Linked DNA regions of Homo sapiens: region 2 is linked to region 1. Evidence: promoter capture Hi-C in 16 types of primary human blood cells and fetal thymus (Javierre and others, 2016). All regions are on one chromosome and are shown on one strand. Each heading gives the region's core, a stretch centred on a gene start or on the middle of the fragment in contact. The rest is flanking DNA. Distances are from core to core; before and after follow the strand shown.

Region 1 (6,462 bases), core at 3,755-6,254:
ATTCGGAGGGTGTGTGTGCAAAAGCAGATAGCAGGAAACAGGCTATTGTAAGAGACTATTGTGGTATGGACCCAGGGAGATGGAAAAATGTCAAATATAGGAGTATGTGGGAGATGATATTAATAGAACTTTGGACAGGCTTGGTGTGGAAGGTGAAGAAAAAGGAGAATTCAGGGAGATACCTTAATTTTTTATTTGAGCAGCCAATAGCAGTGATGCCGTTTCCTGGGTTGAAGGGTGGAACAGTGGAAGATGCAAACGTCTGATTGCAGTTGGGAGGGTGTGAGCCATCCCGGTGGAGCCGTCTGGGGGCAGTTGAATATACCAGCCTGGACGTCAAGGGAAACGTTTATCACATTCCCATGACATTACTATTATTTTATTCATGAACTTATTATTTTATAATTAATTTATTATTTTATTGTATTTATTGATTTTTAGAGACACGGTCTTGCTCTATCGCCGAGGCTGTAGTGCAGTAGTGCAATCACAGCTCACTGCAGACTCCACTTCCGTGGGTTCAAGTGATCCTCCTGCCTCAGCCTCCCGAATAGCTGGGACTATAGGCACACACCACCGCACCCAGCTAATTATTTTGTTTTTTGTGGAGACAGGGTCTCACTATGTTGCCCAGACTGGTCTCCAATTCCTAGGCTCAAACGATCCTCCCACTTTGGCCTTCCAAAGCACTGGGATTACAGGCGTGAGCCACCGTGCCTGGCCCCATGACATTATTTATGGTCATAGGAATGATGCCACCCTGAACCAGCTCGAACCCTGAAAAACATTAGAGATTGGGGACAGAAATCAGGACAAGCAGAGGAAAGTGATACGGAGCAGCCAGGGATGTGGAAGGGAAACAGCAAGCAGCTTCCATGGAGGCTGTGAGAATCAGGTGCTTCCAGAAAGGGGCTGTGGCCAACTGGGCTGCATGCTTCTGAGAGGCTCTGGGAGCTGAGGACAGAAGCGTGTTCACTGGACTTGGCAGCAGGGAGGGTGTTAGTGACTTGACAAAAGTAGTTTCAGTTGAAGGGGAAACGGAAGCCAGGTTGGAATGGATTGGAGAGAGAATGAAAGGTAAGGAAGTCAAGACAGCTGGTGTAGACACTTTCCAAGAAGTTTTACTGTGAAGAGGAAAGAAAAATAGGGCAATAGATGCAGGGAGGTGTGGGGCCAGGAGAATAGTTTTGTCACCACTGCCATTGTTTTTAAAGTGGGGGACACTAGAGTCTGTTCACAGATGGGGAGAGGTGGATGGGCAGTAGAGAGAGGGCACCTGGAGAGGTCTTTGAGAAGCAAGAGGGGCTGGGGTCCTGAGCCCCAGGAAAGCCTGACCCTTGCTTCTTATTATTATTCTAACAGGATAGAGGAAGACGGGGTGGGATGGGGAGATGGTTCTGTGGATTTGACAGTGTGTGTGTAGTGGTTCTTCCTTCCTCAGGGAAGACCATCAGCTGGGAGGCTCATGGGGAGGAGCGCGGAGGTCTGAGGAAAGAGGAGAAGGCATGAAATAGTTGTTTTCAAAAAGTGGAAAAGTGAGCCTACCAGAAAAATCCACACTACAGGGCTGGCAGGATTGAGGACAAACCCAGAATATGTGACCATGAATTTACGGTGAGCTCAGCCTAGTCATACCATTTCCCCAGCCACATTTCTCCAGCTCGGGGCTGACTTTGGAAAACCAGAGCTGGGGACATGCAGTTAGGGGTTCCCCAGGACTGTGTGATAGAAGGAGAGAGATCCCTCCTTCTGGGATCTCTCCCTGGGAGCTGTGGAGGAGGGACCAGAATGATGATCTTCTAAGTAAGCCTAGATGAGGAGGGACATGAAGTCAGAAGCAGGTGGAAAGGGAGAAAGTGCAGGGTCAAAGAACTGAAAGTGCCCAAAGATTATAGCAACCGGGCCCCTGAGCCAGGAGCTGAGAAGGTGGCAGGGGCAAAGGAAGAGTTTGAAGTGGTGATTTCAGAGGAGATATGGTTTCTGGTTATGATTTAGGTTCAGGGTATGCTTAAAGGAGAAAAGAGCTAAGGTAGAGTGTCCCTGTGATTCACTCACTTATTCATTTGATAAACTTTTATTGAGCTGGTGACACAAACAAGGGGAGAGTTCCACCCAGCCAGGGTACCCAGGGAGGGCTTCCTGGAGGAGGTGGTTCTTGTGTGGGTTGAGTCTAGAAAGATGAATGGAAGCTCTCCAGGGAGACAAAGAAGATGGGTGCTCTGGGAGGAGAGCAAACCACAAGCAAAGGCATGGGGGTTAGGGCAGGGGGGTGGAAAACAGCTTGGCCCATTTGTGAAAATGGAGGTAGCATGGCCAGAGGATGCGGGAAGGGTAGGCAATGAGGCAGGGATCTGATCATGGAGGGCCTTGGGAGCCCTGGGTAGGGCTTAGGACGTACTCCTAAGCAGTGGAAAGCCATTGAAGATTTAAGCAGGGGGTGAAATTTGTGACTTTACAAATATTTATGGCAGTCTAGGGGAGAGCCTGGTGGGAGGTGTTTCTTTGGTTGGTTTTTGAGACAGGGTCTCACTCTGTCACCCAGGCTGGAGGACAGTGGCACCATCATGGCTCACTGCAGCCTCGAACTCCTGAGCTTAAGGGATCCTCCTGCCTTCGTAGCTGGGACTACAGGAGCATGTCACCACGCGGGGAGGTTATTTGAACAGAACAGGTGAGGGGTGGAGGGTGGAGAGGGCAGTGACACTGGAGAGGGAGCATCAGTAGGGTGTGGAACTGGCCAGATCTACCACCATGATGCTTCGGGCAGCCACCAACCAAAGCCAGCTTCAGCAAGTGGAACCAGTGAGGACATTCCTCCCCTCACATTACAAAACAGCCAGACCTCAGGGGTAATGGAGGAGTAGGAGAAGAGGAAATTAGGAGGAAGTGAACATTTTGAAGGGAGAGGTGTACGCTGTGCAAAGAAAACAGGCTGCAGAGCAGGCCCCAGAGAAGAAGCATCTTCCAGGGGCAGGGAAGGGGCAGGTCCCAGAGCAGAGCTGGGGAGAGTGGCCGGACGCACAGGTGATGTCCTGCTCCCAAGAAGAAAGGCGGTGTGCGGTGTGGGAAGCTCAGGAGGGCCAGCGGGGAAGAAAACACTGGATCTGTCCCCTGGGGAGCTCTGGTGACTCAGGTGAGAGTCATTTCCTCGAGTGCTGGGGTTGGGAGCCAGACTATGTGTCTGTGGGCTTTTGTGGCCCTACTTGGGCTCGTGTAATGAAAAGAGTGAGCAGTATCAGGACAGGAGGATCATCACAGCAGGGACTGCAGACTGGGTGGGTGCACAGCAGCCCTGGGGTCTCTTCAAGGCCATCTGGCTGGTTGGCGCCTTCTGTGTAGTGACAAGCAGCATGTGGGGGTGTACGTGGAGTGGGTGATGGGGAGGAAGGTGGCAAGGTATATGACAGAGCTGTGAGATGCAACTGGGAAGGTCTGCATGTGGGGTGGCTCCAGGCCGGGTGTGCGTGCATGTGCCTGTGTGTGCAAGTGTGTGCACATGCACGCCCACGCTCACGACAGGGGCCAGTGAGCAGCTGAGGGCAGGGTTGGCAGGAATAAGCAGAGTCATCCCCGTGGAAACACGACTCCCTGGGTGCTGTAAGGAGCAGCTGGGAGCCAGGCACAAGGGCGTGGCCAGCTCTGCCCAGTGGCTCTGGCCTCTCCCTGGCCACCCTCCCCACCTGTTGAGCAAGCCTGAGAAGCGCCCGTGCTGACCAGGGCAGGGGCGCTGCTGCAAGGGTCAAGGCCCACTGGGAGAGGTCCACCCTCAGGTGTGGCTTTGGGGGTCTCTAGGGGTCTGTCCAGGTCCCTGTGGTGCAGGGGTGGCTCCAGGTCTGTCCATGTGGGTCTGGCAGTGGCTGCCTGCAGCTGGTCTGCAGGGGTCTCACTGCAACTGCCTGCTGATGTGGTCATTCCCCCAGGGCCATTTGCAATAAGTGATCCCCCTTCCCTTCCACAGGAATAGGCTCTGGAGGGCTGGGCAGAAGGGGAGAGGGGCCAGGTGGGGCCCAGACCACACAATGCTCACAGGCATCAAAGGCTCCTTGTGGATGCCCCTTCCCCCAATCCAGCTTGTGCTGGGACCACCAGCCAAAAGCAGTCCCCAGGAGCTCTAGCCCTGCCCCCACCATTGGAGTTGTCCATCTCCTTGTCCCTGTGACCTTCCCTGTACGTCTTCTCTTCCACGTTAGCACCTGCAGCTCTCCAGATGCAATGTTCCTCTCCCAGTTCACCCTGCCTGCCCAGTGGGCTAGAGCCCCCAGGGCTGTGGGAGGGAACTGCTAGGAGACCCCTGCCGGGCCCAGGGCCCTTTCTTCTTCCCTCTCCCAGCCCAACACCAAGTACCCCAAAGATCAGGAAAGAGGAATCCACACCCACCCCCATCTTTCTTTTCCCTTCCCTCCAGGCCAGGGATGGCAAACACAGGCAGAGGCACCACGGTCTTCCTCCTTGCGCCCCTGGCAGACATCACTAATCAATCACAGCAACCTTTTTGCACAGAGCCTGGCTGCCACCTTCATGGTCTCCACCTACATCTCCAGGTGGCCAATATCAGGATCCACGTCGGCCCTCAGGGTGAAGTCCCTGTGCCAGTCCCACTTTGATCTAACCCCCCAACCAGGCCCCTCATCCTGGCCTATCCAGAGGTCGCCTGAGCACAGCCAGCTGTGGTTCTCTCTCTGTCCCATTAGGCTGAAGCCACACAGTTCCCGGAGCTTGGGCCCAGGAGGCAGTCGAAGGCACTGGGGTGTTGACCCCAAGTCCCAAGGCCACAAAGAATCTGGTTGGTTTGCCGTCGGTCCTGAGGGCAGCCGCTGCCACTTCTGGGGAAAGTGTGGTGGGGGGGCCAGGGGTGATGCTCTGTGCCCAGCACCTGTGCAGCAGCAGCACCTTGCAGGCACATCTCCCAGTCCTGATAGAGTCTGCACGCCCACCTCCCCGGCTCGGCCACTGGGCAAGCAGGAGGTGAGGAGTGGACGGCCCGCCCAGGGAGGGGCGGCCGCCCAGCACCCCGGGGCTGCGCACTGCAGCTCCCCAGGCCACCCACCACCCTTCTGGTCTCTGAGCCCAGGATGCGAGGATGGCCAGACCATCTCTGTGCACCCTGGTGCCTCTGGGCCCTGAGTGCTTGCGCCCCTTCACCCGGGAGTCACTGGCAGCCATAGAACAGCGGGCGGTGGAGGAGGAGGCCCGGCTGCAGCGGAATAAGCAGATGGAGATTGAGGAGCCCGAACGGAAGCCACGAAGTGACTTGGAGGCTGGCAAGAACCTACCCATGATCTACGGAGACCCCCCGCCGGAGGTCATCGGCATCCCCCTGGAGGACCTGGATCCCTACTACAGCAATAAGAAGGTCTGGGCCTGGGAAGGCTTCCTCTGTCTGTCTGCCATCCATCCATCTGTCTGCCTGTCTGTCTGTCCCTGGGTCTCACAGCCTCTCTCCCACCTTAGACCTTCATCGTACTCAACAAGGGCAAGGCCATCTTCCGCTTCTCCGCCACACCTGCTCTCTACCTGCTGAGCCCCTTCAGCGTAGTCAGGCGCGGGGCCATCAAGGTGCTCATCCATGCATATCCTGCCCAAGATGGGAGAGGCGGGAGGGGTTAGGGATGGGCGAGATGGGGTGCTGTGGCCCAGGAGACCCTCTATCACCTCCCATCCTAGCTGCTTCCTCACTTTCCTTGACCCTGCCCCACGCTGTTCAGCATGTTCATCATGATCACCATCTTGACCAACTGCGTATTCATGACCATGAGTGACCCGCCTCCCTGGTCCAAGAATGTGGAGTAAGTCTCCCTGCTCCCTGAGCTCCCCAGCCCTGGGACACAGCCCATCTCAGGTGTTTGCACCTCTGTGTGGTGCTGCTCTTGTCTTTCAGGGAGACACACTGTCATTGTGACCCTCATCCACACCTTGAGTCCCTGGGGTGGCCATGCTATCACTCGCTAGTGTCCTTAGCCACCTGAGTGGCATATTTCATTTCTGTGTCCCTCCCTTCTGGGGGTCTGTCGTTGCCACACTGACCCCTACCCAGGTGACATGCCTGTCCCGGCCGGCCCTCTCCCCCCCAGGTACACCTTCACAGGGATCTACACCTTTGAGTCCCTCATCAAGATACTGGCCCGAGGCTTCTGTGTCGACGACTTCACATTCCTCCGGGACCCCTGGAACTGGCTGGACTTCAGTGTCATCATGATGGCGTGAGCAGGGGCCCCAGGACATCCTGAGGCTGGGGTGGGTGAGGGGAGGGGGCCAGGCCTTAAAGAGGGAAGCTGCCTGGGCTGAGGGCTGCAGGGGACATCGGTCAGTTGTGCAGATGGGGAGCTGCACAATTCTAGAAGCTGCCATTCTCAGGGTCTGGCTCAGCACTCTCCTGATGGACTCCTGATAATCACATGAGGCAGCCCTGACCCACAGACCCATGGGTCCTCACCTGCTGGGTGAGCCGGGCTATCTTTGCCA
Region 2 (6,462 bases), core at 2,964-5,463, 100 kb before region 1:
TCTTCGTTCTGCATCCATCCCCCAAGTTATATGCAAGTTTCTTGAAAGCAGTTCTGTTCTGGTCTCAGTTCTCTATCCAGCCTCAGTAACTATCCAAGAGCTTACATTTGCATCATTGTGGATATGTTTTCTAAAAGATATGCACGGTGATACAAAAATGCATATAACCTTCACGTGCACTAGCCCATGTAGGTTAACAGGAGGGAGAAAGTTATTACCGGTACAACTTGGCCTGGTCCTGGGAAGCCTCTGGGAATCTTGACATTTTGGGATGTTTCTGATGATGGCTTTGTTGTTCTTTTGCACAGATCCAGTCCTGCAGGTCCCAACACATGTGGAAGAGTAAGTTTTCTGATTCGCTCAGTACTTCCCTTTAATTCAGTCTTCTTCATTCAATCAGTGTTTATGAGGCCAGTTGCTGGGAGTGCATATATGTGTAAGTTTGAGGAATAACAGTGAGTGACATATAAAGTCTTACAGGTGCTATGATGAAAGCTTGTGTTGAGGAGGAGGTGGTCAGTTTCCTGAGGGAGAAGGGTAGTGGTTTTAAAAAGGCTTATTTGAGATGAAACTCAAGTTGAGCTTTGAACTTAAACTTCCAAAGTCCTCAGGGGGACTGGACCTCTTCCTCTTTGCTGTGTCATATCATGGAGAAAAAAGGTGAATGTGACCTGCTACTACAGAGTGTGTGTTGGGGTAAAAGCTGGATAGCACTGGTAAGAGCCTTAAATGATGGCACAACCTAAGGAACGATTCAGCCAAGGGTTTCTGAGGGACTGTAGTTATAGTTTAGTCTTTAGCAGATTAACTTGACAAAAGACCACTTCACATCTGCTTCAAGGGAAGCTACTGACGGAGGGACCTTGATCTGTCCCCTTGGCGGGTTCTCTCTGATGTCAAGCTGTTAGAGTCTGCTTTTATTGCCTCCAGTTAAACAAAAAATATCTCTTGAAAACTAAAAGCAGATTTGTTCTACCTGTTTATGTACCATGCCATCCTATCAAATATTAATGGCTGGAGTTCTATATACAATTGATGTAGAAATTGAAAAGTGGACTTACTGGGTCCTTTTCACATATTTTGCCTTCATCCAGAGTGCTTTGACCAAATGATAATTTGTCTTCTATGGTTTTGTATGATTTTTCCTTTCAGGCCGCTTTTCTCCACTCAAGGATAGTGTATACCACCATAGGGGTATTTTATTTATCTGTGGTTGAAGTGAGAGAGAGTAGTGGGTGGAATTGTCTTATATACTCACTTATACACCTACACACAACCACCCTCCACTCTCTATTCCTCCATCATGGGTTTGCGTGGCTTTGGTATGTTGTTCCATGCCCTGGGCTGTAATTTATCTTTGATATTTATTATTTAATCTCTAGGCCTGCCTTTCTCCCAGATCCTAATGATGGCAGCCTGTATACGCTTGGAAGCAAGAATAATGAAGGCCTGACGGTGAGTATATTTAGCTGCTTTTTGTACTCCAGGGGTTCTAGACCAGCGGTCCTTAAGTGTGTCTGCACAGTGTCTTACTGTGTCTCCCACCTGGAGCTTTTAAAAACAACCCCTGGGGATTCTGATTCAGGTGGTCTAGAGAGGAGCCTGGGCATCAGTCTTTTCAGAGAGCTTCCTAAATGAGCTTTTAAATGTGGTGCCAGAGTTCAGAAACACGGATGCAGACCAGCAGGTTCTCATGGCCCAGCCCATACACTGGAGGATATAATGTTAAGAACAGGGTTTGCTCTAACTGGTGACCCTCACCTTAGGAGGGAGGGATATAGTTTGAAATGCTGTCTCCACCTGCCCCACCTTCCGATGACTCCTTAAGGGAGTCATGTGATATTCTACCCTCATTTCCATTTGAGAATCTAAACCAGTGGTTTTCAGCCTTAATTATACATTGTAATAACCTGGAATTCGAAAAAACAGCATTAGGACCTAGAACATAGGGCCCAATCCCAGAAGGTCCCGATTTAATTGATCTAAGTCATCAGGACTTTTTAAAAGCTCCCCAGATAAGAGAATTTAGAAACAGGCCCACACATATGGTCATCTGATATGTGACAAAGGTGACACTGCAGTGTCCTGTCTTGTCTTTTCTCTTTTCTTTTGAGACAGGGTCTCACTTTGTCACCCAGGTTGGAATGCAGTGGCACAATCTTGGCTCACTACAACCTCCGTCTCACAGGCTCAAGCCAGCCTCCCACCTCAGCCTCCTGAGTAGCTGGGACCACAGGTGTACATCTCCACGCCCAGCTAATTTTTTGTATTTTTGGTAGAAATGGGGTTTCATCATATTGCCTAGGCTGGTCTCCAACTTCTGGGCTCAAGCGATCCACCCACCTCAGCCTCCCAAAGTGCTGGGATTACAGACGTGAGCCACCACCACCCAGCTTACAGTGTTTTTGCAATAAGTGGTGTAGGTCAATTGGGATATCCATATAGGAATAAAAGTATTGACTCCTACCCCCCTACAACACATATAAAATCAGTTCCAGATAGATCACACATCTAAATGTGAAATGCAAAATAATAAAGCTTTAAGAAAAAAAGTAATGGAACCATCTTCATGATCTTAGAGTAAGTAGAGATTTATTAAGTAGGATATTAAAGAACACTATAAATTTAGGAAAAAATCAATATATTGATTATATTAAAATTAAGAACTTTTCCTCATTAAGAGGCCACAAAGTATTTGTAGTATACACATCCAACAAAAGTTCATATTCAGAATATATGAAGAAATCCTATGGTACGTTAAAAAAAGACAGCCCAATGGAAGAATAACAGAAGAGAATATCCAAATGGTCATAAACATATGAAAAGATGTTCCATTTTATTAGTCATTTGGAAATGCAAATTAAAGCCACAGTGCCATACTGCTACTCACCAGAATGGCCAAAACAAGGAAAGTAGAAAAAGAAAACATGTTGGTGATGTGGAGCAACCAGGACTCTCACCTACTGCTGGCGGAAGTGCAGGGTGGCACAAGTGATTTGGAAAACTGTTGGCAGTAAGTGCTAAAGTCCTTAGGACCCAGTAATGCCCTCCTAGGTTACAGACCCAACAGAAATGCACATTTGTGGCTGGGTGCGGTGGCTCATGCCTGTAATCCCAGCACTTTGGGAGGCCAAGGTGGGCGGATCACGAGGTCAGGAGATCGAGACCATGGTGAAACCCCGTCTCTACTAAAAATACAAAAAATTAGCCAGGTGCGGTGGCGGGCGCCTATAGTCCCAGCTACTTGGGAGGCTGAGGCAGGAAAATGGCGTGAACCCGGGAGGTGGAGCTTGCAGTGAGCTGAGATCACGCCACTACACTCCAGCCTGGGCAACAGAGCGAGACTCCATCTCAAAAAAAAAAAAAAGAAGAAATGCACTTTTGTTCACCAATGGACATGTGCCCAAATGTACAGCAGCACCATTTATAATAAGCAGAGGGTGGCCAAATAACATCCACAGTGGAGTGGAAAAATAAACTCTGGAAGCGGCATGCACGGTGATGAGGACCAACAGTCTATGACGACACACGCCGCGGATGACTCACAAGCGTGATGTTGAGCAAAACATGACAGACAAAAAAGGCCACACGCTGCCATTCACTTATGTAAAGCCAAAAACAGGAAAAACGAGTCTCTGCTGTTTTGAAGTTAGGATAATAGTTACCCCTGGAGAGTTATGGCTAGAAAGGGGGGCAAGAGAGGAGGGGGGCTTCTGTTTCTTCACCTGGATGCCGGTTACGTGGGTATGTTCACTTTGTGAAACTTGACTGAGCTGTGTGATGATGAGTGCTTTTCTGTTTGCGTATTATGCATCAGTAGGAAGTTTTTAAAGCTTCCAAGTAATTCTCATGGGCAACCAAGGATGAGAACCACTGATCTAGGCTGTAAGTGGATTGTGGACTTTAACTTGGGTGTTTTAAAATTATTTTGTGAATGCCTGTGACCAAAACAGAGGGGAGGAGGGCAAGTTTGTATAGAGCTGTGTGTATTTCACCTTCAACACTGCTCTCCGTTGGTTTCTCTCCACAGCTCTGTAGTCCCCATTTCTTAAGCAATTTGTTTGCCAGAAACTGGGGTGAGTGAGTTGTATAAGTTATCTCATTGGAATCTCTCAGCAGCCCTGTGGGTGATATCCCCGTTTTAGAGGTGTGGAAACAGCCTGGAGAAGTGAAGGAATATGTCCAGGGCTGAGTCTTCTAGTGTTGGAGTTGGTTCTTAAAGAGGATGCCCAGCCGGGCCTGTAATCCCAGCACTTTGGGAGGCCGAGGCGGGCGGATCACAAGGTCAGGAGATCGAGACCATCCTGGCTAACACGGTGAAACCCCGTCTCTACTAAAAAATACAAAAAATTAGCCAGGCGCAGTGGCGGGCGCCTGTAGTCCCAGCTACTTGGGAGGCTGAGGCAGGAGAATGGCATCAACCCGGGAGGCGGAGCTTGCAGTGAGCCGAGATCACGCCACTGCACTTCAGCCTGGGTGAGAGTGAGACTCCGTCTCAAAAAAAAAAAAAAAGAGGATGCCCTTCATCACTCCCTTGTGCTCCTTTCTGGGTTGTGGTTTAGCAGCTCCAGAAACAATGTTTCCCAAGCTTGGGCCTTGAATCAGGGCACCAGTGGCAGTGCTCAGCAGAGACCACAGGACTCCAGAAGACTAGAAGATCTGCAGTGCCTTTCTGATTCTCAGAAACACATGGCAAAACCCAGTCATTGCAGCCTCTCTGAAGCATTTTTCCTCCTCTGAGGCTTGGTTTGAATGTTGGGATGATGGGAAAATCCAAGTTATTTAGTATGCAAAGCTCTGCTTATTAAAGCTAGAGAGAAATCTTTTCTTTCTTGGAGAAAAAGGTGACCATGCAGTAGAGGCATTTCTATAAAAGCAGGTATCTATAGAACAATTTCAAAAACACAGAATGTTCTAAAAATAAAGTATACTGAAACAAGCATTAACCAAAAGAGCTCGTCAGATGTCAGCTGTAGACTCAGAAGAATCAGTTTTATGATGAAATGCAGTTGAAACATTTGGATTCCTTTGAGTTTCTTTTCCTGGCACCTATCTTAACTTCCTCTTTAAAACCAAAAGTCTCAATTTTTCTTGTTTTTCAATAGTGAATTATTTACTGAAGAAAACATCAAAACTCTTTTCCACCTCAAACTCTTGTGTTGCCCCTGTAATGGCGACTTCTCCTTTCCCTCGAAGCTTGAGCTTGGCACCAAGGTTGCATCCCTTCAGCATCAATGTCCTGGCTCCCTCCCATGGGGCTCTACAAAGCACTGTCATTTTACTCAGTCTAGCCAGCTCTGGCTCTGTATTCCAAGCCAGGACAATTCTTTCTTAGCATTTCAAAGAATATATAACTCTCCATATTTGTGTAAATCTTTTCAGAAAAGGTTTGTGTCACCCCTGGGAAGCACCCTGGACAGGAGACCTTGAGGGGCCTCTGCACATGGTGTCAAGTAAAGGAGTGGATGTTTACAGAGCTCAGGGACCTGGGAGCTTGTCAAAATAGATGTGGAAAATTAGCTGGGTGTAGTGGCAACATGCCTGTAATCCCAGCTACTTGGGAGGCTGAGGTGAGAGAATCACTTGAACCCAGGAGGCAGAGGTTGCAGTGAGCCAAGATGGTGCCACTGCACTCCAGCCTGGGCGACAGAATGAGACCCTGTCTCAAAAAAATGAAAATAAAAACACAGTAGATGTGGAAGCATAGGGTGCCCCCTTCTCCTTTGTATTCAGTTAGGAAAACTCTCATCTGCAAAGTGCTTCTCTCTTTTTAGCAGAATTAGGTAATAGAAACAAACTGCCTGGTAAAATTGTAATAATTGCACAAGACTTGGTTAACTTTTTTTTTTCTTTTTTTTTTTTTTTAAAGAAACTTCCTTTTACCATCCCAGAATTGGTGCAGGCATCCCCATGCCGAAGTTCAGATGGAATCCTCTACATGGGTAAGAGTTCCTGTCTCCAGAAACTTGTGTCTCTTTGATGTAAGTCCCGGAATCTGGGAAAGTGGCATGCGGAGAGAGAGGGCGCAGTCACCGCCTTGCCAACCCTTTCTTTCCTGGGTTGTGCTTCAGGTGCTGTTCTCCCCAGGATCAGCTGACCAATTAAGAAAGGGCTCCCCCAACTTGGGAGAAGAATTGACATCATTAATATGGTTACTCATTTAACAAGCTTTTAGTTGCTGTGTTGACTTAGTCCTGAGATTCCAAGATTGCAACATACCCAGTGGCAAATGGATGAAATTTAAAGTGAGTACAATCATCTAAGCCAAGGAAGGAAAGCCAGGCTCTGCCTGTTAATTATAGCGCTTTCTTAGTATTTCCTGCTATCAGAATGTTTGATAGAACAGCACTTAATAGCTTGCCTAGATAAACTGCCTTCATACCTATGGGGTCACAGCTTTCAAAGCATCAGATCACCTGCTTTTCTTTTACTATGTTGCTGCCAAAATGTCAATAAAAAAGC

What was found. Contacts are between HindIII fragments. The CHiCAGO score rates a contact against its expected background, and 5 or more counts as called.
Region 2: a fragment that was not itself captured here is called in contact with the fragment with the promoter of SCN4A in region 1 in 1 of 17 cell types (total B cells); the score reaches 5.0 in total B cells.

Annotation. Positions count from the first base shown.
Region 1 is chr17:63,971,460-63,977,921 of GRCh38, reverse strand. It overlaps SCN4A (sodium voltage-gated channel alpha subunit 4), which reads left to right and starts at 5,004. Exons shown (of 24, transcript NM_000334.4): 1 at 5,004-5,353; 2 at 5,452-5,570; 3 at 5,697-5,786; 4 at 6,072-6,200. The coding sequence starts at 5,081. The HindIII fragment of the contact is 13,365 bases long and covers 1-6,462 here.
Region 2 is chr17:64,074,655-64,081,116 of GRCh38, reverse strand. It overlaps ERN1 (endoplasmic reticulum to nucleus signaling 1), which reads left to right. Exons shown (of 22, transcript NM_001433.5): 3 at 309-342; 4 at 1,383-1,455; 5 at 5,870-5,942. Among named protein-coding and RNA genes, the nearest start is that of ERN1, 52 kb to the left of the region's middle. RefSeq lists a silencer at 5,874-6,168 and an enhancer at 6,352-6,431. The HindIII fragment of the contact is 755 bases long and covers 3,836-4,590 here.